7 separate regions of the Homo sapiens genome follow, and regions 2, 3, 4, 5, 6 and 7 are each linked to region 1. Evidence: promoter capture Hi-C in 16 types of primary human blood cells and fetal thymus (Javierre and others, 2016). All regions are on one chromosome and are shown on one strand. Each heading gives the region's core, a stretch centred on a gene start or on the middle of the fragment in contact. The rest is flanking DNA. Distances are from core to core; before and after follow the strand shown.

What was found. The method cuts DNA at HindIII sites, captures the fragments that hold promoters and counts their contacts. A CHiCAGO score of 5 or more calls a contact.
Region 2: a fragment that was not itself captured here is called in contact with the fragment with the promoter of ARL6IP5 in region 1 in 6 of 17 cell types (total CD4 T cells, naive CD8 T cells, naive B cells and 3 more); the score reaches 13.1 in total CD4 T cells.
Region 3: a contact is called between a fragment that was not itself captured here and the fragment with the promoter of ARL6IP5 in region 1, in 1 of 17 cell types (total CD8 T cells). The highest score is 5.6, in total CD8 T cells.
Region 4: a fragment that was not itself captured here is called in contact with the fragment with the promoter of ARL6IP5 in region 1 in 1 of 17 cell types (total B cells); the score reaches 8.3 in total B cells.
Region 5: a fragment that was not itself captured here is called in contact with the fragment with the promoter of ARL6IP5 in region 1 in 1 of 17 cell types (total B cells); the score reaches 5.9 in total B cells.
Region 6: a contact is called between a fragment that was not itself captured here and the fragment with the promoter of ARL6IP5 in region 1, in 1 of 17 cell types (non-activated CD4 T cells). The highest score is 7.4, in non-activated CD4 T cells.
Region 7: a contact is called between a fragment that was not itself captured here and the fragment with the promoter of ARL6IP5 in region 1, in 1 of 17 cell types (naive CD8 T cells). The highest score is 6.4, in naive CD8 T cells.

What each region holds. Positions count from the first base shown.
Region 1 is chr3:69,082,873-69,086,186 of GRCh38, forward strand. ARL6IP5 (ARF like GTPase 6 interacting protein 5) reads left to right here and starts at 2,065. Exons shown (of 3, transcript NM_006407.4): 1 at 2,065-2,351. The coding sequence starts at 2,176. RefSeq lists enhancers at 69-228, 1,836-2,145. The HindIII fragment of the contact is 15,418 bases long and covers 1,219-3,314 here.
Region 2 is chr3:66,295,535-66,298,848 of GRCh38, forward strand. The region is part of intron 5 of SLC25A26 (solute carrier family 25 member 26); the gene reads left to right. Among named protein-coding and RNA genes, the nearest start is that of SLC25A26, 76 kb to the left of the region's middle. The HindIII fragment of the contact is 1,135 bases long and covers 999-2,133 here.
Region 3 is chr3:66,356,682-66,359,995 of GRCh38, forward strand. All of the region lies in intron 6 of SLC25A26 (solute carrier family 25 member 26), which reads left to right. Among named protein-coding and RNA genes, the nearest start is that of SLC25A26, 140 kb to the left of the region's middle. The HindIII fragment of the contact is 2,214 bases long and covers 351-2,564 here.
Region 4 is chr3:66,380,363-66,383,676 of GRCh38, forward strand. It overlaps LRIG1 (leucine rich repeats and immunoglobulin like domains 1), which reads right to left. Exons shown (of 19, transcript NM_015541.3): 15 at 2,620-3,039; 16 at 1,911-2,036; 17 at 1,117-1,269; 18 at 215-499; 19 at 1-127. Among named protein-coding and RNA genes, the nearest start is that of LRIG1, 120 kb to the right of the region's middle. RefSeq lists enhancers at 2,333-2,834, 2,835-3,314. The HindIII fragment of the contact is 3,340 bases long and covers 1-3,168 here.
Region 5 is chr3:66,434,909-66,438,222 of GRCh38, forward strand. All of the region lies in intron 3 of LRIG1 (leucine rich repeats and immunoglobulin like domains 1), which reads right to left. Among named protein-coding and RNA genes, the nearest start is that of LRIG1, 64 kb to the right of the region's middle. RefSeq lists enhancers at 807-1,397, 1,398-1,987. The HindIII fragment of the contact is 5,612 bases long and covers 1-3,314 here.
Region 6 is chr3:66,469,077-66,472,390 of GRCh38, forward strand. The region is part of intron 1 of LRIG1 (leucine rich repeats and immunoglobulin like domains 1); the gene reads right to left. Among named protein-coding and RNA genes, the nearest start is that of LRIG1, 30 kb to the right of the region's middle. The HindIII fragment of the contact is 2,560 bases long and covers 202-2,761 here.
Region 7 is chr3:66,485,675-66,488,988 of GRCh38, forward strand. All of the region lies in intron 1 of LRIG1 (leucine rich repeats and immunoglobulin like domains 1), which reads right to left. Among named protein-coding and RNA genes, the nearest start is that of LRIG1, 14 kb to the right of the region's middle. The HindIII fragment of the contact is 1,908 bases long and covers 585-2,492 here.

The DNA.
Region 1 (3,314 bases), core at 815-3,314:
TGAGCAGTTGGAAGATAAAGTTCTTAGTTACAGCTTCTAATACTCATAAATCTCACCAACAGTGTGGGGCCCCACTGGAGTTCCCACTCTCATCTTGACCAAGATGATTTACTCAGCTTGCCCACAGTGCTGCCTCTTGACATTCTGAAGCCCTGGGGAATTCCTCCACACCCTCTGACTTCCTGTAACTGAGCACTGAGGCTCAGTGCATCTCTATTTAGCACTCCTCTTACTGTCTCATATTTAACTAGTGTTTCCACTGGATTGCAGAAGTTTTGAAGGCAGAGCAGGATTACATTTTTCTCCTCTTTAAAAAAAAAAAGAAAAGAAAAGAAAAAAAACCCACAGTGCTTTCACAGAGCCTCAAAAGAACTCGAAATACTTGCTGGCATTGTACTGAATATTCTCAACCTTTTCCCCCTACCCAGATACATCCACAACAATAAAGTTGGAGCAAGGTAGAGAAAAGTTAGTAGATGTTTATAATGAAAGCATAGAAAACAAATCAGATTAAAGCACTATTAATAGCAAACAAGAATCGTGGGCTATCCTATTGCTAATAACAATAATAGTAACATATAACTGTGAACCTTTATTATACACTAAGCATTTCCTATACATTCCTTCACTTAGCCTCGTCTATATGGCAGATGTTCCATTATCCCCACTTTACACATGAAGACACCGAGGCTGGGAGAGATTAAGTAGTTTCTCCAAAGTCACCTGCCAGAGAGGAAGGAGCTGCGACTCTAATTTTGCTTTCTCTGACTTCACACCATCCCATTTTTCCAGAATCAAGAAAACATGAGCACTCAGGAATATTTTCACATTTTAAACTTTATTCAAAAAGCAGCACATAAGATATATCTTAGCACTAATTCCATGCAATCACCAAATTTTCCTAAACAACAGTAGTAGTAGTAATTTCTTAGAGTCGCTGTAAGCTCCTTAACTGTCTTCTGAATTAATAAGGAAAATTAAATTATGTTTTCTAGACTTTGCATTAGTATATTTCATTACTTTCCAAGTTTTCAAAAATTGGTGATCTGAGTAGAGTGAATTCACCTTGTCTAAGCCACTTAGGGGCTTAGAGACTCTGTTATCTTAGAAATCTTCACCTTAGAATTCTACCTATTACATTATACAATTAAACAAACTACTTTTTTTCTCATGCATTGTACCAATCAGCCCCTTAACTGAAAAAAGATGACCCTTGGAAGCTTAGAAGAGAATTGACAACGAATACTTCTTTTGCCAGGTCTTTGGGCTGGGATACAAAACATCACGTTATCTATGAATATATTGTGGTCCCTCAGTGAAAGCTGTCACCAAATATTGCAATAAAACTAAGAAAACTTTTGAAGTGGAATGCATATTTCTGCCCAGAAAATGCTGGATGCAGAACAACTAGTTCACTGCAGACAACTGTTTGCTTTAAAATGTAAGCAACATGCCCAGCTCAGGACTGAAGTGGCCAGAGTGCCTACTTTATCAGAATGGCATAGCAGTCCAACAATTTAGCCTAGAGAGAACAGAGGTGGAGAACAAAGAAGAGAAGTGAAAAAAACAGACCAGCCCTTCTGTTCTACATGACCTTCTTTCCCGTTTTGCCAATCTGATTTCACACATAGTGACTCATGGTGAAACAGAGAAAACATGGGAATTGCATTCAGATGTGTAGAGGTTAGTAAGACTTAGTTTTCAAAAGCAGCTCATTCTCCATTAACACTGTAGTCGCCTTCCATTTCATTTCACTTAGATTGGCATCTGCACAGCTGCCAAAATTTTTCTCTAAGTCAGAGAACACACTCCTAGGTAAACCTTCAAAAAAGGTATTTCGAAGGAGGCAGCTTCTCTGCTGCTAGAGAAGGCATTGCCACCTCCCTTCAGACAGGGGATTTCCGCTAGTTGCTTTCTGTCATTTCGTCTCTATTCTGCACTCAGTCCCTTGTTCTGTCTGGAGGTTCCTGTTTTCCTGTACCCAACCAAGAGCCAATGAAGAAGTAAAGAGGAGCAAACACGCCCGCCCACTCCCAATTTCCTTTGCTCTGCTGTCTGCCAACCGCAAAGCCGACCGAGACGGAGCCGCTGTCAACTCTCCAACTCAGCTCAGCTGATCGGTTGCCGCCGCCGCCGCCGCCAGATTCTGGAGGCGAAGAACGCAAAGCTGAGAACATGGACGTTAATATCGCCCCACTCCGCGCCTGGGACGATTTCTTCCCGGGTTCCGATCGCTTTGCCCGGCCGGACTTCAGGGACATTTCCAAATGGAACAACCGCGTAGTGAGCAACCTGCTCTATTACCAGACCAACTACCTGGTGGTGGCTGCCATGATGATTTCCATTGTGGGGTAAGTGGGGTCCCCCTACCCGGGACACCGATCCGGGGCGAGCACGGAGGGGCCTCGGGGTGCAAGATCCCGGGATGTAGAGACGCTCTCTGACCACGCTCAGCGCCTGCCCTGGCAATTCTGCAAGCGGCCAAGCCAGTGGAAACTTGTTTGCAGGGCGAGGCCGCAGTAACCTGGGGCCCCATTTTCTGCACCAAGGGCTGAGACTTGAGGGGGGCCCTAGGGGAAAGAGGACGGGGAAAATTTGCCAGCCGCAGGGAAGAAAAATGAGAGTTCCCCCACCCCCCTGCCCCCGCCCGCGTGCCAGGATCGGGCTCTTGCTGGAAAGATATTTGTAGCGCCCTCGTCTTTTAAAAATAAGAAGAAAAAGGAAAGTGGTGTAACCCTACCCTGGAGCTGGCTGGGGCGGCAGGGTGTGGACCCGGGCTAGTGTAAAAAGGGCAACCAAGTGGCGACGCACTTTGCTGCTTTCTCTGCCTAATGCCTGCCACACTGTACAGTAAAGCTGAGCTTGGGATCAAAAGGGGGGGTGTCTCCTGGTGGCGCATCTCCCATTGTGGGGTAAAGGCTGCCATGACTGTGGGAAGATGGCCTTCTGGCATTTTCTTCCAGCAGTGGCCAGGCGTGGTCACTTTCTCTGTCTTCGCTTCCTAGCCTGAGGTTTCAATGTATCAGAAGGCCTTTTCAATACCTGATACTTAACAAAGTATCCTGTGTTGAGACTGCATGTACACCTGCTTTCCTAGAAACCACCTTTCCTTCTAGTTCACCCTTTAAGAAATGCTTCTCTCGCTTATGCAGGATGGGTGGTGATATTCTCAATCTTGCTGATTATCTCCTACACATCTTTAAAGAAAAAGCCACCCTCAGACTTTATAAAGGACTCACTTGCACTTAAATGTCTGACATTTCTATTTCAGGGCAGACGTAGAGGGAAGAAGCAGCAAGCTGGCTTGGGAGAAA
Region 2 (3,314 bases), core at 316-2,815, 2.8 Mb before region 1:
GGGACTACAGGTGCCCACCACCAAGCCCAGCTAATTTTTTGTGTGTTTAGTAGAGACGGGGTTTCACCATGTTAGCTAGAATGCTCTTGATCTCCTGACTTCGTGATCCGCCCACCTCGGCCTCCCGAAGATTTTTTGTATTTTTAATAGAGACGAGGTTTCACCATGCTGGCCAGGCTGATCTTGAACTCCTGACCTCGTGATCCGCCTGCCTTGGCCTCCCAAAGTGCTGGGATTACAGGTGCAAGCCACCGTGCCCGGCCATGTGTGTGTTTTTAAAACTATTTTTTAAATTCCATTTCTTGTCTGGGCACGGTGGCTCACGCCTGTAATCCCAGCTTTGGGAAGCCGAGATGGGTGGATCACGAGGTCAGGAGTTCGAGACCAGCCTGACCAACATGGTGAAACCTCATCTTTAATAAAAATACAAAAATTAGCTGGGCATGGTGGCAGGCACCTGTAATCCCAGCTACTCAGGAGGCTGAGGCAGGAGAATAGCTTGAACCCGGGAGGCGGAGGTTGCAATGAGCCGTGATCGCACCATTGCACTGCAGCCTGGGTGGCAGAGCAAGACTCCGTCTTGGAAAATAAAAAAAAAATTTCTTAAAGAATTGGAGCCATCAAAGTTGGCAAGCATTAAGCATGCTAATTAGTTCAACATACTGACCAATTCTCTGAATTATTAGTTCAAAGAAGCATGTGGACAGGGATGAAATTAAATTTGGGAATTTTTCACTCTAGTTGTTTTAGGATACTCAGGTTTGCTTTGATCTGTAAATAACAGATGCTTTTCCATGCATGGTTTAGAGTACATCAAACATGTTCAAAACTTTATCTCAGATACTTAAAATCAAGTTATTTTATTTTCCTGATATACATGCATTTGCTTTATTTTTAAAAATAAACTGTCATAAAATAGTTGTAAGGCCATACATAAAATTTACTTTATTAATTGCTAAAATATATTGCTTATTTAAATAATCAGTTTTAAGAGTAAAAGCTTTGGCAACTATGAAAGCATAGGGAGTATGTGTTCATATGTGAATGTATTGTGTGTGTATGCATAGTATACTTTTAGGTATCTAAGTAGTGAAGATAAATGTCTGCTTTACTTTTATTAGCTAAATATTATATTTAACTTAATAATTATTTAATCACTAGAATGAAAATAAAACTTTGAACAGAAGCATTGTTTTTAACTTAAGTTTCATAGTTTACTACCTCTTTTGGCTCTTAACCATAATTTTAGTACTGGGAAGAATTTTTTTAACGAATGGCATAAAATGGATTGCAGATGGGATGAGAAAGGTGCAGGACCAAGAGGGTAAGAACTGAGAAGTCCTCGATTCTGTTTTCCACACTCCCTGAACAGAAGGCTTGACTGGCGTAGGCCCTGCTCCAACCTAGTGTAGGCTGCAGGAAGCCATGTGACAAGAGTCCAGATTGTTGTCCAATGGTGGAAGCCTCCCATTTATAAGTAATAATAAGAATAAGAATGTTTGGCATTGAGCGAGGTGCGGTGGCTCACGCCTGTAATCCCAGCACTTTGGGAGGCTGAGGCGGGTGGATCACCTGAGGTCAGAAGTTCAAAACCAGCCAGGCCAACATGATGAAACCCCTATCTCTATTAAAAATACAAAAAAAATAGCTGGGCATGGTTGTGGGTGCCTGTAATCCCAGCTATTCGGGAGGCTGAGGCAGGAGAATTGCTTGAATCCGGGAGGTGGAGGTTGCAGTGAGCCAAGATCGTGCCATTGCCCTCCAGCCTGGTCAACAACAGTGAAACTCCATCTCAAAAAAAAAAAAAAAAAAAAGAATGTCTGGCATTAATTCTAGAACTGAGATGCTCTTTTGCTTAGTAAAGTCATTTTTTCTTTTTGATCATTAAGCTACATGAGGTTTTGTAATGCATTCCATTTGTGGCTGTTCTTTATCAAAATATTACTATAACAGTAGCTTCCTTAGTACATCAGACATCAGGACACTGAAGGTCTAGTTGCAGTTTTGCCACTCGCTATCTTGTGCCTTTTGAAGTTGTTTAATCTCTCTGGGTATTGATTTCCTTTTTTAAAAAATAGTTGGTAAACTATGACCTGTGGGCCTAATCCAGATCACAGCCTGTTTTTGTAATAAAGCTTTATTGGCATGCAGCCACTTTCTTTCATTTATGTATTGTCTGTCTGCTTTCACACAACAGTGGCAGAGTTGAGTAGTTGTAACAGAGACTGTATGGACCATAAAGCCTAAGCTATTTATTATCTGACTCTTTACAGAAAAAGTTTTCTGAATCCTAGACTAGATCATCTTTGAGGGCTGTGCTGTGCCTTAGATTAGATTTCCTTTTTGTCAATTTCTCTTTAATTCTAAGTTCTCAAAAGATGTCTGTCTTTAAAGGATATAGCATATCATTTCCTCGTTATCAAATTTGCAAATTATGAAAAGAAGGAAAATACTGAGTAGATCATTGGTTCCCAAAGTACAGTCCCTCCACGAATAGCAGCTGCATTCCCTAGGAACTTGCTAGAAATGCAGAATCTAAGTCCCCACTTGAGATCTTCTGAATCAGAAACTTGGGGTGAGGCCCAGAATTTGTGTTATACACCCTCTGCATGATTCTGATGCATTCTGAAGTGTGAGAACCACTGGACTAGGTGATACAAAGTTCAGTTAACAGATTTTCTTCTGTTTTGAAAAAAAGAAGAGCTTAAATACCAAAACCATTTGATAGGTATATCAGGAGGAAAATGAAATGTTGGATATTATTACTAAGCTGGTGAAATTAATATTTTCTCTAGTAAAACTCCTTGTCATAAATTGTGGATAAGTTTTAATATAATGAGAAATTTCTGAGAGGTACATCTGTGTCACTTTCAGCATATTTTTAATGGACAGAAAAGTAAATATGATTTATTTCTTTGTGGGGTTTTCTTTTTTTGGTGGGAGATCACTTTGAATTATTTCAAAACTGATGATTTGTAATAAACAGTTTTCAGAATAAAAGAATTACATTAAGAATTAATTTGCTTGTGAAGAAAGTGTCTTAAGAAAAGAGCATTTAAGGGGCACAGCAGCCTCTGCTGTAGCTGGATTTCTTACCCATTTTAAGTGACATCAGTGTTGAATTGACTTTTTCCTCAGTGCTAAAAGCTGCTAGAAATGAGCACCAGTCACACTACTGATCTGTGTTAGGAAAGATCACAAACACAGTACTTTGTAATAAATGTCAGAGGAATAGCAAAATTGTACATGTCAAGAAAGCATTACAGGATGACGTTGCTATTTGGAGAATTGCTTTCATCTTTGAGATATCTCAC
Region 3 (3,314 bases), core at 208-2,707, 2.7 Mb before region 1:
GCAGTGGTGTGATCGCTGATAACTGCAGCTTCAACCTCCCAGGCTCAAGCAATCCTGCTGCCTCAGCCTCCCTAGTAGCTGGGACTCAGGGGTGTGCCAACACGTCTGGCTAATTTTTAAATTTTTTTGTAGAGACAGGGTCTCCCTGTGTTGCTCAGGCTGGTCTCAAACTCCTGGGCTCAAGTGATCCTCCCACCTCAGACTCCAGCAAGTGCTAGGATTATAGGCACGAGCCGCTGCACTCGGTGGAATGTTCCTATTTTTGTAACTCTTCTGTAAATCTAAAATTATTTCAAAATAAGTGTCATACAACCTAGTAGACATGGTTTCTAATCAACCTGTATTAAGGAAGCTTTACTTAAGAAAAATTACCGAAGTGAAACTAAGAACATTTTTGACTTCTGTTCTCATTACTTAAACTTGATATTTCTCATTAATGTAACCATAGATTCATGTGAAAATTTCATTTATACTGTAATTCCAGCTACTTGGGAGGCTGGGGTGGGAGGATCACTTGAGATCAGGAGTTTGAGACTACCCTGGGCAAACATAGCAAGATGCTGCCTCAAAAAAATAAAATAAATTAGCCGGGCATGATGGCCCTTGCCCATAGTCCCAGTTACTCAGGAGGCTGAGGCGGGAAGATCGCTTGAGTGCAGAAGTTGGAGGCTGCAGTGGGCTGTGATCACTTCACTGCACTCCAGCCTGGGTAACAGAACAAGATCCTGTCTCTTAAGTTACTTACATTTGAACAGAAAAAGGAAATGGGACATTGAATTGGGATAAATAAGCAAACATCAGGGAAAATGTGGCCCCTTGCTTTTTAAATTCCTTATTGTTATTTTGGTATACAGCCTCCTCCGTGAGTTGAGACTCCAATACTGCTTCTTCACATTCGGGCCCCTTAATGCCCCTCTCCTCCCCTAATCATTTATCCGCCTTGACAGAAATGATCATTAGACCTCTGTGGCAATGAAATTACTTATTTAGGTTGAGAAATTATGGAAATTTAGAAAATTTTCGGCAGATTCTTAAAAAAAAAAAACTTTTGTAAACCCACATTATTTAAATTCATTGTATTAACTTCAAAATATTTAATAACGTGTGTATTATGATGTAGTTCGACTAGAAGTTGAGCTGTATATGATAGTGAGGAAACAGACTGCTATTTGCAGGACGAACCAGCCTCAGTTTTCCCATTTACTATCTATGTGACCTCAGGCAAATCTCCTAGAACTTGCCCCTCACCTGTTTTTGTGGAGAATAATATACTTCTCAACATTGAATGAGATTATACATGTAAAATCTTTAGCATAGTGCCTAGAGCATTGTAGGTAGTCAGTAAATCCCAACTAATATTGTCAATAGTAATAATTTATATTGTTACCTGTACTATATCCTACATTCCAGTCTAAAATTATGTGAATGTCATAATCAATACATAGTCTTCCTGTGAGTAATGTCTTCCAGCTAGAGTATTTTGTTTATTACAATTCTGTTGTCCCTCCAAATAGATGAGCAAATATGTAATTTCAAAATATTTCCATAATTTATGTATTTTTTACGAGTCACTTTCTGATTATTGTTGTTTTATGAGTTTAAGGTTGCACTCAAATGAATAATTTGTAAATAACACTCTTTTTAGATTGGTCTCAATATTACATTTCTGAAGTTCTGTATTCAGACAATTCCTCATTTAGAAAAATCATTTCAAACTCATTTAAGCAAGTTGTTGCAGACATTGACATAGTTTGTTCATTCACTTGGATATTTTAAGTCATTCCGGTAGAAATTGTGATTTGCGTGTGGAAGTAAAGTGTCTCATGAATGCTTATCTGTGTGTTACCAGGACAACTATATCCTATAGATCCAAACCCATGTGTTTTCATGCCCACACCAGAGTGTCCCATCCAGATCCCAGCTTTCCTACTCGCTGTTTAATCTGTGAGTTACTTAACATCTTTGAGCCTCATCTTTAGACAATTTTTTTCTTAGAGATGGGATCTCACTGTGTTAACTAGGCTAGTCTCAAACTCTTGGCCTCAAGTGATCCTCCCATCCGGGCCTCCCAAAGTGCTAGAATTACAGGCGTGAGCCACAATGTTTTTGTCTATAAAATGACAAGATAATAAAAATTACATGTAAGTCGGAAGATTCTGGAGAGAATTACATGAGCTGATGTATGTAAAGTGCTTCACACCTGGAATGTGGGAAGTTCTGTATGTTCTATGGAAGTGTGTATTGTGGTTGCTGTTACAGTCATTCTTTACGTCATGCTTTGTGTTTGCCACTGAAGTTTCTCACTTTAAACGTTTTGGGTCTTCTAGAGATTTTTTGTTTGTTTTAAGATATTTATTAGTATCCATGTCAAATACCAAATTATTTCTTTATGTGTTTTTTGTAGGCTCATTATTCTGGCCAGGTGATAGTGGAAAGTTAGACTTATCTGTGGAGATTCTGTTTTTAAATGTTGTCTTCAGCCATCTGAGTCTATTTGGATTGTGTTTTTTCGCCCCCTGGCAACCAATTTTTTTCTCCCTAGATTATAACAGGCACCTCTGTGAAGCTTTCTCTGTCACCTCACTTCTCTCTTGTATAATCCTCTTCTGCCCCCACCATACCTTCATCAAATATTAGACCTAGGGACTGTTACTTTTTCTTTTCTTGACTACAATACCTGACACCTAGTAAGTAGTTGTTGAATTTATGACTTGCATAACATTTTTGATTTCTTATCACATTCACATCTTACTGTTATTTACTTTTGCTTATAAACTCAGCATTATTACCAGCATTTCAAGTCTATTTGGAGTAGCCTTCTACTCTTTGGAACATTTAAAGATATAAGTAGATTAACTGAAAGTGACCTTTAGTCATCAACAGAAATCTAGTTTATATTTTGCATTGCTTTTCTACTAAGTTGGTGAAGTAAATGTTGGTGTTAAAACTGGCATTAGCCTGATAAAATACACCCTTTGCCACCTTAAAAGTAAAGAAAAAGCGATTCCATTGTCTTGTTTCTTATTCTTTCTGCAGTGCTTCTAGGAGCTCTGGAAAAAATAATGGTTTCTATTAAAGCATACAGATGTATTTGCAAACATTAGAGCATTTTCTGAAAATATACCAGATACTCTGTTTAATGGCAATATTATCTTTAGAAACCAGTCTCTAATAAGTCTTTTCTTTTTTAGCTTATCTGCTTTCACAAGTAAGGTGATAAATACCTATTTGATAGCTGCACTCTCAGTGCAGTAAATTGAATTAATACACTTTCAGAGAATCATTCACGTTAGTATGGATAGAGGGAAATGTTG
Region 4 (3,314 bases), core at 249-2,748, 2.7 Mb before region 1:
TGGCCATTGGAAACAAGCAAGTACTGGGCTTCCGCGCGCTCTGGACTGCCTGAAGTTAATGAAGATGCAGGCTGTAGCTCTGTGGAGTCCGGGTGATACAACCTTGCTAAAGTCCAGGAAGAATCCCCTACAAGGAAAGAACGAACCTGTCAGACCCCCACTTGACCGTTTAAGCAGCTCCCAACCCACCTGTTAGAAGACAGTCAAAAGTTACCTTTCCCATCTAGAGATGCCATTGGCTTTTTCTTCACAGCCGTCAGCATTCTATCGTGGTTACTGGGGTAGAGCGACCCTTGGCACTCGGGGCAGGACCCAGCGGCAGTCCTGCTGCACTGGTGATGTGGAGAATGCTCTTGGTCACTCCCACCCGGCTCCGGGCCATTTGGCGCACTTGGCTGTGCGCTGTCTCTGGACACAGGCTGGGGGTGGAAGGCTTGTCCCCTGGAGTAACAGTCCACTTCGGTGTTGCAGTCACTGCATACGACCCGGCCACCGTGTTCTGAAGGACAGCGCCAAAGATGGGTTAGAGTCACTGCTGTGGGAGTCTTCGTCCCCACACAGAGGACAGGCTGCTCAGCTCCACTGTGCAAGGTGAGAACCCTGACTGCAAACACTGTATGCATGCTTCCTCTTTTCCCCAACTATGTCCCCAGAGAAAGGACTGGGCAAACACCAAGTCACTCATGAACTGTGGGGTCTTTCGTGTTTACAGTGAATTTCATAGACAATGTAGTCTTACTGCTTCACGGGGGAAAAGCCATTAGCCTTAGGTACCATGCAGTGTTGGGTCTTTTCAACAATTAGAAATAAGCCTCAAAATAGCCCTGGTGAAAAAGTGCTGACTGAAACTCTATACTTCGTTTGTGCCTTGCCCCTTATTTAAGTTGCTTATACATCTAGAAAATTCATGCTCAGGCTTACCATGGCGTAGATTTATTTAGGAGAAACTATCCTGGAATTAAGAGAGCCAGGCCTGAGCTTCCCCTGTATATACTGAATACCAAATTTGGAGACAGCTGTGGACTAGGAATGTGTCTCCCCCTTTGATGTAGTGACTAGGTCAGCCCAAATTTCCATTTCAGAAAGAAACTACTTCCAATGGGAAGCATCTCATACCCATCTTATGTGGCCCAGGTGTCCCTTCAGCTTTCTCCATCGCTTTCCACGGCTCTTTGTGATACGCAGACCCAGCACAGAGCTTTGGCTGCCTGCAGGCAACGCTGTGAGTGTCGGGCTCTGGAAAGTGGCTTGCATCTCTTGGACACACACCTGCAAGTGGATTCCAACACGATTAGAAACTCTGGGCTTGGTATTTCACAGTAAGCCTTATGAAAGGAATGAGCAAGGCCGCTAGAACAGTCATTTTTTTTAAAAAGTTCTTCAGAGCGGTGGGGCTGCTGGTCTGGCAAGCAGCGTGTTTTCTGCTACTACTTCCCAGCAGGCAGGCTGGCCTTGTGAAATGAGCAGCTGTCTCAGGGTGAGCCTCTACAGTCTCAGGCAAGTGCTCAGAGGCCCCCACCGTTGGAAGTACCTCATCCTGGTGACAGCTTTCCAGTGTAAGACTGGATCACAGAGCAGACCTGGGCACGTTCCCCATGTAAGGAATGGGTTGGCTGGGTTCATGCACCGTAATGCCCTTTCCAGCTGCTACTCCAGGCAAGCCTACTTTATCCTGCCAGGGAGATGCTAAGCCCAATCCAGTGGCTTCCTGAGGGGACAGGACTTTAAAACCTTGCAGAACTCATGAAGACTGGGTCCAAAATAGCAGCCCTTAGTCATACCGCCTTCTACTTCACCAAGTTTGCCCCATCTAATGCCAGGTACCTGCCCTGTAAAGACCTGGAGGCCACCTCCAGCACCCAGAGACACAGTCACAGCAGAGCTCTGCTTCACAGTTACTGAGGCCTTACCATTGCTCTCAATGTGCCCATTGGCCTGAGGGCCACCCTCGGTCCTGACCACGGTTTCTTGTCGGTCAGAAAGGGTCCCCTGAGAAGAGAGGTAGCTTGGAACATCTGGTGGCACGACGGTTTCATCTGCAAGGAGACAGAACAAATAGAACACCAGGGTCTCAGTGACAAGAAATGCAGACACACGTTCACTGTCAAGCTCAGAAAGGGGATCCTCCCAGTGACGACCATCAGCGCTGTGCAGAGAGATGACATGGAGTCCATGTACGCAACAGGCCCTCCCAGAGCCTGCTCAGCTTTACTCTACACCCAGCGTGAAGAGCGCAGCCAGCAGATGCCAGACGCCACAAGAAGTGGAGACCAGTGATGGAAAGCCGGGGCTCACAGAAGTACCGCACTGTTTCAGGAACAACCTACTACGTGGCAGCAGGGCCTGTGCATAGGCGGCCTCTGAGTTAGCAAGGAGAGGGAAAACTGCATGGTGCGTCAGTTACTTGTATTTGTGAGTATTCCTGTTTAAGGTTAAATTTGAGAGTATTCCTGTTTAAGGTTAAGTTCCTCAAAGTTAAAATGGAATTAGTGGGACTAAACCCTCAGGAGTTCTGAACACAGTGCAATTCTTTCAAAAGCCACTGGAACCCGGCCCAGTTCCCCAGCATCACTGCCATTCCTCCCTCCTTGAAAGTCAGCTCCGCTGGCAGGGCCTGACCTGTGTTGGTGACACTGTACTCTTCACTCTTCTTCCTGGTCTGGTAGATGATGCACACCCAGACCAGTGACGTCAGGACGATGCTGCTCACGACAGCAATGGTGAAGATGCCTACCGTGGTCCCATCCTTCCTGCAGCCTGCTGCGGGCAGGACGCTCAGCTGGCTGTGAGCTCGCTCCGTGCCCAGGGTGTTGGACATCTCACAGGTATATCGGCCCGCATCCTCTGCCACCACGTTCTGAACCACCAGGAGCTGGTTGTCAGGGGTCAAGTGGTGCCGCTCAGTGAGGCTCAGCGGGCGGTCCCCCTTGAACCAGGTGATGCGGGGCGGAGGGTTCCCCGTGGCTTTGCATTGGAGGGCCACTGTTTCTCCCACAGATACCACACGGTCTTCCAAGGGGACCACCAAGGATGGGGTCTCTACAAGAGAGCAACAGAGATCTTAGTCATTCTCAGGGCCTCCGTTGCTCTGGCTCTGCCCGGTCTTCTGGACAACGGACAATCCAACATATCAATGAGATGCATCTGAGATTCTGTCTCAGAGTGGCAAGCTTTGGAGAAGACCCTTCAACTCATTGACTGAGTCATCTCCATGCTGGGAGTGGCTTCCACAGGGACAGTGAACCTCTGCTGACAAAAGCCCCTGCTATTCCCTAACTGTCCTGTGTCAGGCCTGTGTCCTTATTCTTGACCAA
Region 5 (3,314 bases), core at 555-3,054, 2.6 Mb before region 1:
GACCTGTCAATTGCACTCCTGGGCATTTATCCCAGAGAAGTGAAAATTTATGTTCACACACACAAAAGAAACCCAAACACAAATGTTCATAGCAGTATTTTTTAAAAGCAGCCCCAAACTGGAAACATTCTAGATGTCCTTCATCGGGTGAATGGTTAAAGTACGGCACATCCATATTATGGAATACAACTCTGTGATTAAAAAGGAATGGAACGACACATACAATAACCTAGATGAACCTCCAGGGAATTACGCTGAGTGAAAAAAGCCAATCCCAAAAGGTTATCCATACTTTATTATTCCATTATATAAAACTCTAAATGAAAAAACTACAAATTTGGAGAACACATTAGAAGTCAACCAGGGGGGGCTAGGCATGGTGGGTCAAGCCTGTAATCCCAGCACTTTGGGAGGCCGAGGCAGGCAGATCACTTGAGGTCAGGAGTTTGAGACCAGCCTTCCCAACAGGGTGAAACCCCATCTCTACTAAAAACAAAAAACAAAAAACAAAAATACAAGAATTAGCCAGGTGTGGTGGTGCATACCTGTAATCCCAGGTATTTGGGAGGCTGAGGCAGAAGAATCACGTAAACCTGGAAGACTGAGGTTGCAGTGAGCCAAGGTCACACCACTGCACTCTAGCCTGGATGGCAGAGCAAGACTCTGTCTCAAAAAGAAAACAAAAGACAACCAAGGGTGTGAGGGCAAGAAGTAAATGACTGTGGCCATAAAGGGGAGAGATCCTTGCAATGATACAAATATTCTGCATTCTGACTGCATCGATGTCAATATCCTGGTTATGAAAAGCTGTACAAGATGTCACCATTGGGAGAAACTGGGTTTAAGGGTACGTGAGGGATCTCCCCATATTACTTTTTTTTTTTTTACAACTGCATGTGAATCAACAATTATCCCTAAGTATCATTAAAACAACAATACAAAAGTGTCATGGCATTCACGGTGGAATCAGATGGAAAGTCTGGGGGAGTTCCCAGTGGAATCAGCCTTCCTGCTACTTTACTAGTCTCCAGCCATCCTTCAAACCAGCAGAAACTTACACAGTATGACTGAGGTCTCAGAGCCAAGCACCAACTACCACTGGGCTCTGTGTGATTTCTGAAATGTAGGGATATGCATGAACTGTTTAATTACTTCCCATCATTTAGGAAAGGGCTGAGGGCTGGGACTCCTAGAGACAAGGGTGTTGCTGATAAAGCTGAGGACAGCTAGCGTGGCCCTTGCCTGGCATCAGGGGTTGTCATCCAGCCCTGTGTCTTCTTCCAGCACTACTTGGCCAAGGAAGACGTGCCAGACGTGCATGCCCAGAAAGTGGCAGACGCAGGTTGCCAGACACCACACTCCCAAAGCATCATCCTTCGTATACTGGCCTTGGGAGGTGTTCCATGGAAAGGGTGCTGGGTGCAGGCAAGCTCAGGAAGGGGCATTTCCTCCCCCGCCTCTTGCAGACTCCCTCAGCAGGTCAGCAAAGAAAAGCGGCTTAGGAGAGATGATAACAACACCTTTCACTCGGCTTGCTTTGGCATTTGCTAAACTTACATGACCACAAAATCCTTTTCATGAAACGACCATTAACATCCCACAGAACAAGTATTCCAGGTGGCTCACTACTCACTATCTGTGGGAAACACCACGTCTCTCCCCCTCATTTGAGGTCAAAAGACATACAACGCAGAGCCCGGGGGTCTGGTGCCAGCCTCCAAATGAAGCCAAACTGTGACAAGCCTGCACAGGAAGAACTGAAGAGGAGGGGGGAATATATGCCTGTGGTAGCGAAGTCTAAACTTCATGGATGTGCATTTAGAGACAGGGAAGCAGCACTCTCTACTGCCAGGGGAACGTGAGGAGTGGATTTTATCATTCTCTAGGTCAGCACCTCTCATGCTCCCAAAATCTCCCTTCCTACCTCTGAAAGAAAATGAAAACATAATAGAGCTATGATGAAATGATCTTAGGAAGATCTCTGCTTGTCCTTGGAGACTCAAAGGGAACATCAAGCACTAAAGGCTCTGAAATGTTCTGCAGGAAAGAAAGGTGCTCACCTTCAACTCTGGGTTTTCTGAACTTTCTGAACACAGAGCACTCTTTTCCCCCTCAATGCCATCTACTGGCACCTCTAGAATCCAGGCACTCCTTAATGTCATCTTTTACGCAGCCTGCTGCACCTCCCTCATTTTCCTTCCGTCTCTGCAGTGGGGAACGGGTGGCATCTCCCAGCATGGGCTGGACGCCTGCAGGGATCTGCAGTGACTCTCCACCTTCGCTTCACAGAAAGCCTTTCCCAAACCACCTGCTGGCCCCTCAAACAAGCGAGCAGAGACTGGGAGAGCCCTTTTTTGACACATCTGTGGTAAGGTAAGAGCAATTTCTCATCTAAGCAAACAGAGGCTTGAAAAGCTGCTGCTAGAACATGGCAGAACCAGGACTCAAACCCCAATAATGAGCCCTGGGGGCAAGCCCTGTCCACCTCTGGGCCAGGCGGCCTCTCACATGGCAGTTTCCACTAATACTTTTTCTCCCTTGACACCCTGCCTGCCTCTTCAGTAAATCCAGGCAAGCAAGACTTATCCCCTGGCTGGAGAGCCACGCCCTCCAGCACCCCTCAGCAGGCCACTTCTACTATAACGTGCCCAAGCCTGTCTCTCCACCTTGAATAAGTATCTAAAACAACCTAGTGTCTGCCCCATACCCCACAATCACTTATCCTTAAGATGACCCTTCCACTTGGTCCCTCAGAGTCATTCATCCATACATGGATGGGATGCCTGCTACATGCAGCTGCTGCAAGGAAAGACGGACGTGGCTACTGTGCCATCAGCCCCTCACCCCAGCCCCAGAGGAGACAGAGGGATGTCATAGGTGCAGTGGCAGAGGGGAACACAACATCATGGGGGGAGGAGGTCAGAAGAGGGGCGGCTATTCCAGATCAAGGTAGCAAAATGAAGCAGGTACAGGATCCAGAGACACACCCAGTGTGGGCTTTCCTTACGCACAATTTAGAGGTGGGAGAACAGGAAGAAATGGAGCCAGGGCCAACTCTGAAAGAGCTGGGACTTTGTCCCATAGAGGATGGGAAGCCACGAAGGGACCCTTCATTCATGTCTTCGTCAAATATTGATGAAGGTACTTCATTGGGTGGCTGGTGTGGAGTGGGGAGGGATGAGGGCTGCCTCAGAGCCACATCTGGATGCTTGGGAGCCAAGGCCTTGGGGAACCCCTGTAGAGATGAGATGCAGGGCCCAGATTTGGCACCGGACCCGAAGGGCCTGCTAGGGTGCTACCCCCTGTCCCACTCC
Region 6 (3,314 bases), core at 232-2,731, 2.6 Mb before region 1:
AAATTGTATCTTGAACTGGAATCATTCCTCTAGTATCCTATCCAAGGATCTCCACTCAGGAGAAGGTTCTGTACTTGCTGCTACCTCTCTTCAGTAAGCTAAGCAGCCACATATTCCCTATGGCAAAAGAACATATTCTGCAAATAATCAAATGAAAAAAATCACTCAGATCTCAACATGATACAAATAGCTCATTTTGTAAGCTTTTGGGCAGTTGTATCTCACAAAGTCAGTAATGAGTCACCAGTTATTTCCATTTCTGAAAATTTTACATAGACCATTATCTATGCAAATAAGGGAAACCTACAGTGACTCAAAATAGGAGATACTATATACATACAGCTATATATGGACCCAGACTCATTGCCTATTTTTACTCCTTAAAAATCAGCTATAATAATCAGTGTGGGCCTCTGAAGTCTAACGCCCGTGACGTTAACTGAGAGAAGAAACTCATGCCTACCTCTGTGATCCCATAAGGTCTTACATGTGCTTCTCGGCCTTACTAGTTCACACATGTCATCCTGGTCTGTAGCTAATTTGAGTACAAGTCTACATCTTTTCCCTCTAGCACCCAACAAATGTCAAATTTGACAAATATTTATTGTCTACAAGGTATACTGCACTGTGATAAACTGATAACAAATTAGGATAAGATCTAGTCTGTGACTTGAAGTGGTTTACAACCCACTGGTCAAGTTAAGACTCCTGGCCGGGTGTGGTGGTTCACGCCTATAAATCTCAGCACTTTCGGAGGCTAAAGTCGGGGAATCACTTTAGGCCTGGAATTTGAGACCAGCCTGGGCAACATAGTGAGACCCTGTCCCTACCAAAAAAAAAAAAAAAAAAAGAATACTGACCAAATAACACAGCCAAAGGCTCTGACACTTGCAAGCATTCTGTAATGGTAGATCAGTAGCTACAAATTGGTAGTTTGTGGGTACAAAGCTGGGCTGCAGGGAAACTTGCTTGTTTCTGACTGAACAGTGTTGGTAGAAACCTAAAGTTTTCACCAAAAACTAAAGTTTCAGCTTTTCTTGAAAATAATCGGAGGGCCAGCATTCCTAACAGAAACAATCAACTACATGCATTTACCAAGCATTCCAATGACCACAGACCTCACCACTCCTTATTGTCTCACCCATGCCCTCTTTATTCACCGGCAGTATCTTCCCAGCCCGAGATCTGAGTTTGTCATCCCTAGCATGGATAACATGAATGAAGGCCAGATGGCGTCCAGAGCAGGAAAGATCAGCTGTAATGAGAAACGTTTATTGAAAATGCAAGATTTCAGCTAAGCCTAGAAGAAGAGCATGTTTTTTTGAAGAGGAGTCCTGGGAAACGAGGCCAGAAAAGTAAAATAAGGAATGGAGGGCATGGAGTAAAATAAGCAAACAAAAAGGCCAAGAAGTCAGGACCTCCTAGAAAGGAAAGGGCAAGACACAAATGGTTTTACAGCAAAGTTGAGAAGAATAGCCCCATGCTGCCAGACCCACAACCCACCAGGCGGTTAAGTCAAGGGTTATATAAACCTTAGCAAACCCCAGTGCCAGGTCCCTCACGAACATTAATCTATGGGGCCATTAAAGTTGATTTCCATAAGAACAGAGTATCGCCTTGTTCATTTACTTAAAAGTTCTGAACTAGATAATCAAGAGGCCCAATTTGTTTTCTCACCATCACTGAAGGCAGTTAGCATTTGCTTTCTATACTACCCCTTAAAATGGGAGATTCTAGGATCTTTCCTACCAAAAATCTTAGTTTGGCCAAAAAGAAACAAAATAATTAGCTATAATGGGTTTTGTTTTGTTTTACTTTAAGCAGTCTCATCTTTAGTGCAGTTTAGTACTGAGGAAAGCCCACAAATTTCCCATAATAGTCTCTTGTTAATATGGTATGTGCATCATTAACCCCTAAAGATTAATTAATTTAATTAAGAAGAGGCGCTCCAACACACCAGCTCTGCAGTTGGTGGGGACTTTACAAGCAAAAGGAATTTGGGCAGGGAATAGCTGCTGCCAGAGGCTGACCCTCCCACAGACCTGCCACAAAGGGAATATCACCATGGCCACCCCAGCAGGCAAGAGGTGCCTACAGCCACCATTTGGCTTTGCTATTAGAGAAGTGCTTTGCAGAGGCTTGGAAATGGGGAGCGGGAAGAGATGGGTCAGAAGTCTGGTCATTCAGGATCGCCTATTCTCTACTTTATCATCTCCAAAAAGAAACACTAATTCACTAACTTTCACATAGTCCTTAAGCTCTACAGGACTTGGCAAACTCATCACCTGCACAATAGCCCCCCTATCCTCACCCCATCCAGTAACAGAGCTGAATCTTTACCTCCTGGGAGCCCAGTCATTCTGCAGAACAGAGGGGGGTTGGAACCTTGGAGCCAGGTGCTCCCTGCTCCCACTGAACTCTTCCCCGAGGTGCCCTGACAGCCTAGGGCCCCAGCCGCTGCAGGGAGAGCAAAGGCTCATCCATCCCAACCAGCAGGGACGGAGGGCATGGCGGGGATGAAGGGCGGCCAGAGGTAAAACCCAGAGGTTCTCTCAGTTAAAGGATGGCAGAGGGTTCTCATAAATGAAAACCACGCTCTACTGCGGCAGAAAACGGAGACTTTTGCTTCTGGAGTACTGAAAACAAGTCAGGCAAAAGGGACAGGAAATATGGGATGGGTAAAACTGAGAAAAAGGACACATTAACCTGGTGGATACATTTGGAATCCCAGGTTCACCAAGTGCTTTGTAAAGTCCACCAAAGCTTCTCTGGTCACGGATTACTGTTTTCCTTTCCTAAAACTTCCACCTTTACCCCTCCACATCCGCCCCTGGCCCCTGCTAAATGTCCACTTTCAGGAGACTGATTAGCTTCCTATGAAACCACCAATGCAAAATCCAGGGTGTTTCTGAAAATGTGATGCAGCTTTAAAATTCACTAACTTCGGGCCAGGCGTGGTGGCTCATGCCTGTAATCCCAGCACTTTGGGAGGCCAAGGCAGGCAGACCATGAGGTCAGGAGATCAAGACCATCCTGGCTAACACGATGAAATCCCATCTCTACTAAAAATACAAAAAATTAGCCTGGCGTGGTGGTGGGCGCCTGTAGTCCCAGCTGCTGGGGAGGCTGAGGCAGGAGAATGGCGAGAACCCGGGAGGCGGAGCGTGCAGTGAGCCGAGATCACACTACTGCACTCCAGCCTGGGTGACAGAGCAAGACTCTGTCTCAAAAAAAAAAAAAAAAAAAAAAAAAAAAAACACTAACTTCGGATGGTCACAGGAAAGATGCAAACTAACAAGGAAAGCTTCTTCGAC
Region 7 (3,314 bases), core at 289-2,788, 2.6 Mb before region 1:
ACCAAAGGAACATGGAACAGGAACACAAACCACAACCTAACAGAAACAATAAACAACAGATGGCAAAACATATGTGCATGTTACCACCCCCTTTACCAAACAGGCAAACCAAAAATGGATCTGACACACACGCCTACCAACAAAGAAACACGCTCTTCAAGATCACATTCAAGACACCATGTATAGAGCACCAGCTGTACAGCCAGAACTACACTAGGTGCTTCAAGCCACCAAAGACCAATCGGCCTCCAGGAATTCAGAGACGTCAAAGGGAGGCCAGAAAGAAGGCAGTGCTAGTCTTACCGTATTTTCTTCTAAACATGTACACGCAGGTCTGAATTCTAACTGGCAAGTGCTAGACTCTAAACAAGTCATTCAACTACTCTGGGCCTCATGTATACAACAGAGACAATATTTTTCATAGAGTTAAGATGGTGATGATCAGTTAACACAGATATATCCTGCTGCAGAAAGGTACACTATTATTGCGACAGTTATAATAATAACATTATAGCTACCCTTCCTCAAGCTTCTGCTTGTGTGTTAGGCCCTGTGTTAAATATTTCATTTTTTTCCTTATAACAAGCTTAAGGAAGTCGGCACTACAATTATCCCCATTTTACAGAAAAGGAAACTGAAGTGGAGTAAATTGCCAAGGTCACCCAGGCAGCCAGGCCCCAGAGCTGCCTCTTAACCACCGTGCGTCATGAACCGCACAGCTGCTGCATCCCCACAACCATGGCCCCTCATAACCAGATGCCTGGAATGCAGGACTCTGAGAAGACAAGGACACAACATTATCTTCCCCTGAAGACCCTGAAATACTGCACTGCTCTGGGCTTTTCACTGGTTAGCAAGGCACCTGAACTTAAAGAGCTCAAGACAAACGCTTAAATTCTGATTCTCAAGTCACAATCGACTCAACTAATGATTCTGAATAGCTGATGTTTATGACTTTTTAAAAATGTCTCAAAACAAACGAAAAGGGTCACAATAAGTAAGTGTGGCTATCGTATTGTTTTCCATGTATGGACATGTCTATTTTAGGTATCACAGACTCACGTCCAATCACTCTGCCAATTTCACCTCAATGCTAGTATTTTAAACTCTGACTAGAATTTTCCAACTACACTGTAACTTTACGCTTTTGTGTTTCTTCTACATTTAAAAAGAATGCCATTTCCCAATATATAACTCCCAGATGTAGAATTCACAGATGATTCATCTCACAGAACAAGTGTTCTGAGACATCAGCTCCAAATAGAGGAAAAACTTGGAATTCCCTTCGCCCTCAAAGTAAAAACTTGCCTAGATCTGCTTTGCTCAACAAAGTTTGCTTTCAATTATATTTCCAAATTCTTCTAACAATAACTCCACGGCGTCTGGCACCAACACATCTGATTCTTTGAAGTGGTTCTCAAGCAGAAAGTAGAAAATAAGGAGAAATGGGAAAGGAAGAGAGGACTATCCATAATTTTTGTTTTAGGTCAAATATTCTCTCTAAAAGTTCTGACATATAAAATCAGACAAACCACAAGCTATGACTTCTCATTGAGGGGCCACACTGCAAGAAGCAACAGCAATTGAAGAAAGCCTCTGCATTTAGCCGCTGGCTCCAGAGGGGAAAACAGACCCTCAGCACAAAGAAAATGGCCTTTTACTCCTGATATTTAAATTCTAAAAACACTCCTATGAAGTCCTCCACACAGGCCAATCAGGAAAAATTACACTTCAGGGGTAAACCTCAGAACCCCTTAGAGAAACAATGAAACTGGGGGATCCGTTCTGCCCTGAAAGAATGTACCAAGCTCCAAGACAAAGTGGTAAGGCAATAAACAAATAATTATCAAGGGACTCCTAGGTACATGAAATTGAATGATCCCTGCTGCTTTCAAGTCTAAGTGGAGAGAAACACACACACACACATACACACATACAGGGATGTGTGAAGAGTTACCTAATCAGATAGACTCAGAGATTCCTCCGGGAAAGGACGAGATGTCAACAATAAATTCACCAGAACGAGACCAAGTGAGTAACAGGGAGAGTGTGTGACACTGACACACGAGGCTCGAAGAAGGGTGGGAACATCATTTGGCCTGTTTTGAGCTCAGAAAGCACAATGGAAAAAGGTCATCTTTGGTTCTTAAAGGGAGAATTTTTTTTGTAAAGTCTAGTTTTTTGGACACTCTATTCCTAAAGTAGTCCCTAATTGTTGTTAAACTTCTGTCAAGAAGTTCCAGACCACTAACTGTTCCTCCAACTTCATTGCATTTTAGTTGTATCCCCAAACAAAACTCCAAATTCCAAGAATTTGTTCCGGAAAACAATAATAAAAATAAAAATAAATTTTAAATCCGGAAGTTTCGTTTTATGAAAATTTACACGATAAAGAATGAGTGGAAGGAAAAGAAAAGCCCAAGAATTTCCACTGAAGGCACTAACAAATTCCACGTCGAAGAAAAGTGGACATCCAGAACAAAGAAAATAAAAGCTTCTAGATTCTCCATGAAAAGTATTTTAAGGAGTCCAATTACTGTCATAATTTTCAAGATTTTCAAAAACAGTGTAACTAAGAGGTAACCAATGCAAACCTAGGTAGATGGGTAAATTTAATATGAATTTGGCCAAAAACAGAGTCAGACTTCAAAATTAGAAAAAGCCACAGCCGGGCGTGGTGGCTCACATCTGTAATCCTAGCACTTTGGGACGCTGAGGTGGATGGATCACTTGAGGTCAGTCATGAGTTCAAAACCAGCCTGGCCAACATGGTAAAACCCTGTCTCTACTAAAAAAAAACAAAAAAAAAAAAATTAGCCTGGCTTGGTGGCAGGCGCCTGTAATCCCAGCTCTTTGGGAGGCTGAGGCAAGAGAATCACTTGAGCCAGGAAGGCAGAGGTTGCAGTCAGCTGAGATCACACCACTGCACGCCAACCTGGGCGACAGAGTGAGACTCTGCCTCAAAAAAGAAAAAGGAAGCCACTAGGCTGTACATGTTAATTGGCTGAGTTTCTATCTTGAAAGGGATACACGAAAGATCTCCCTGGTAAAAGGGATGGCAAGCTGGCCCAGAAAGAACAGGCAGTGCAGTGAGTAGCTGCCCTTCCTGTGGCCATGACTATAGAATGTGACAGGTGGCCCATCCAGTCCTTAAAGGCAGTTTCTCAGCATCATTTACAACTTCACTTATGGCAAGTATTCACTGAAGGACTGCCTGAGAAAGATGCTGCCTGCAGTGGCCCTGAGAAAGGACCCTTTGGGAAAACATGCCTGTAATTTATTTTCCTGGTTTTTTTTCTTTAAATTTTTACCTA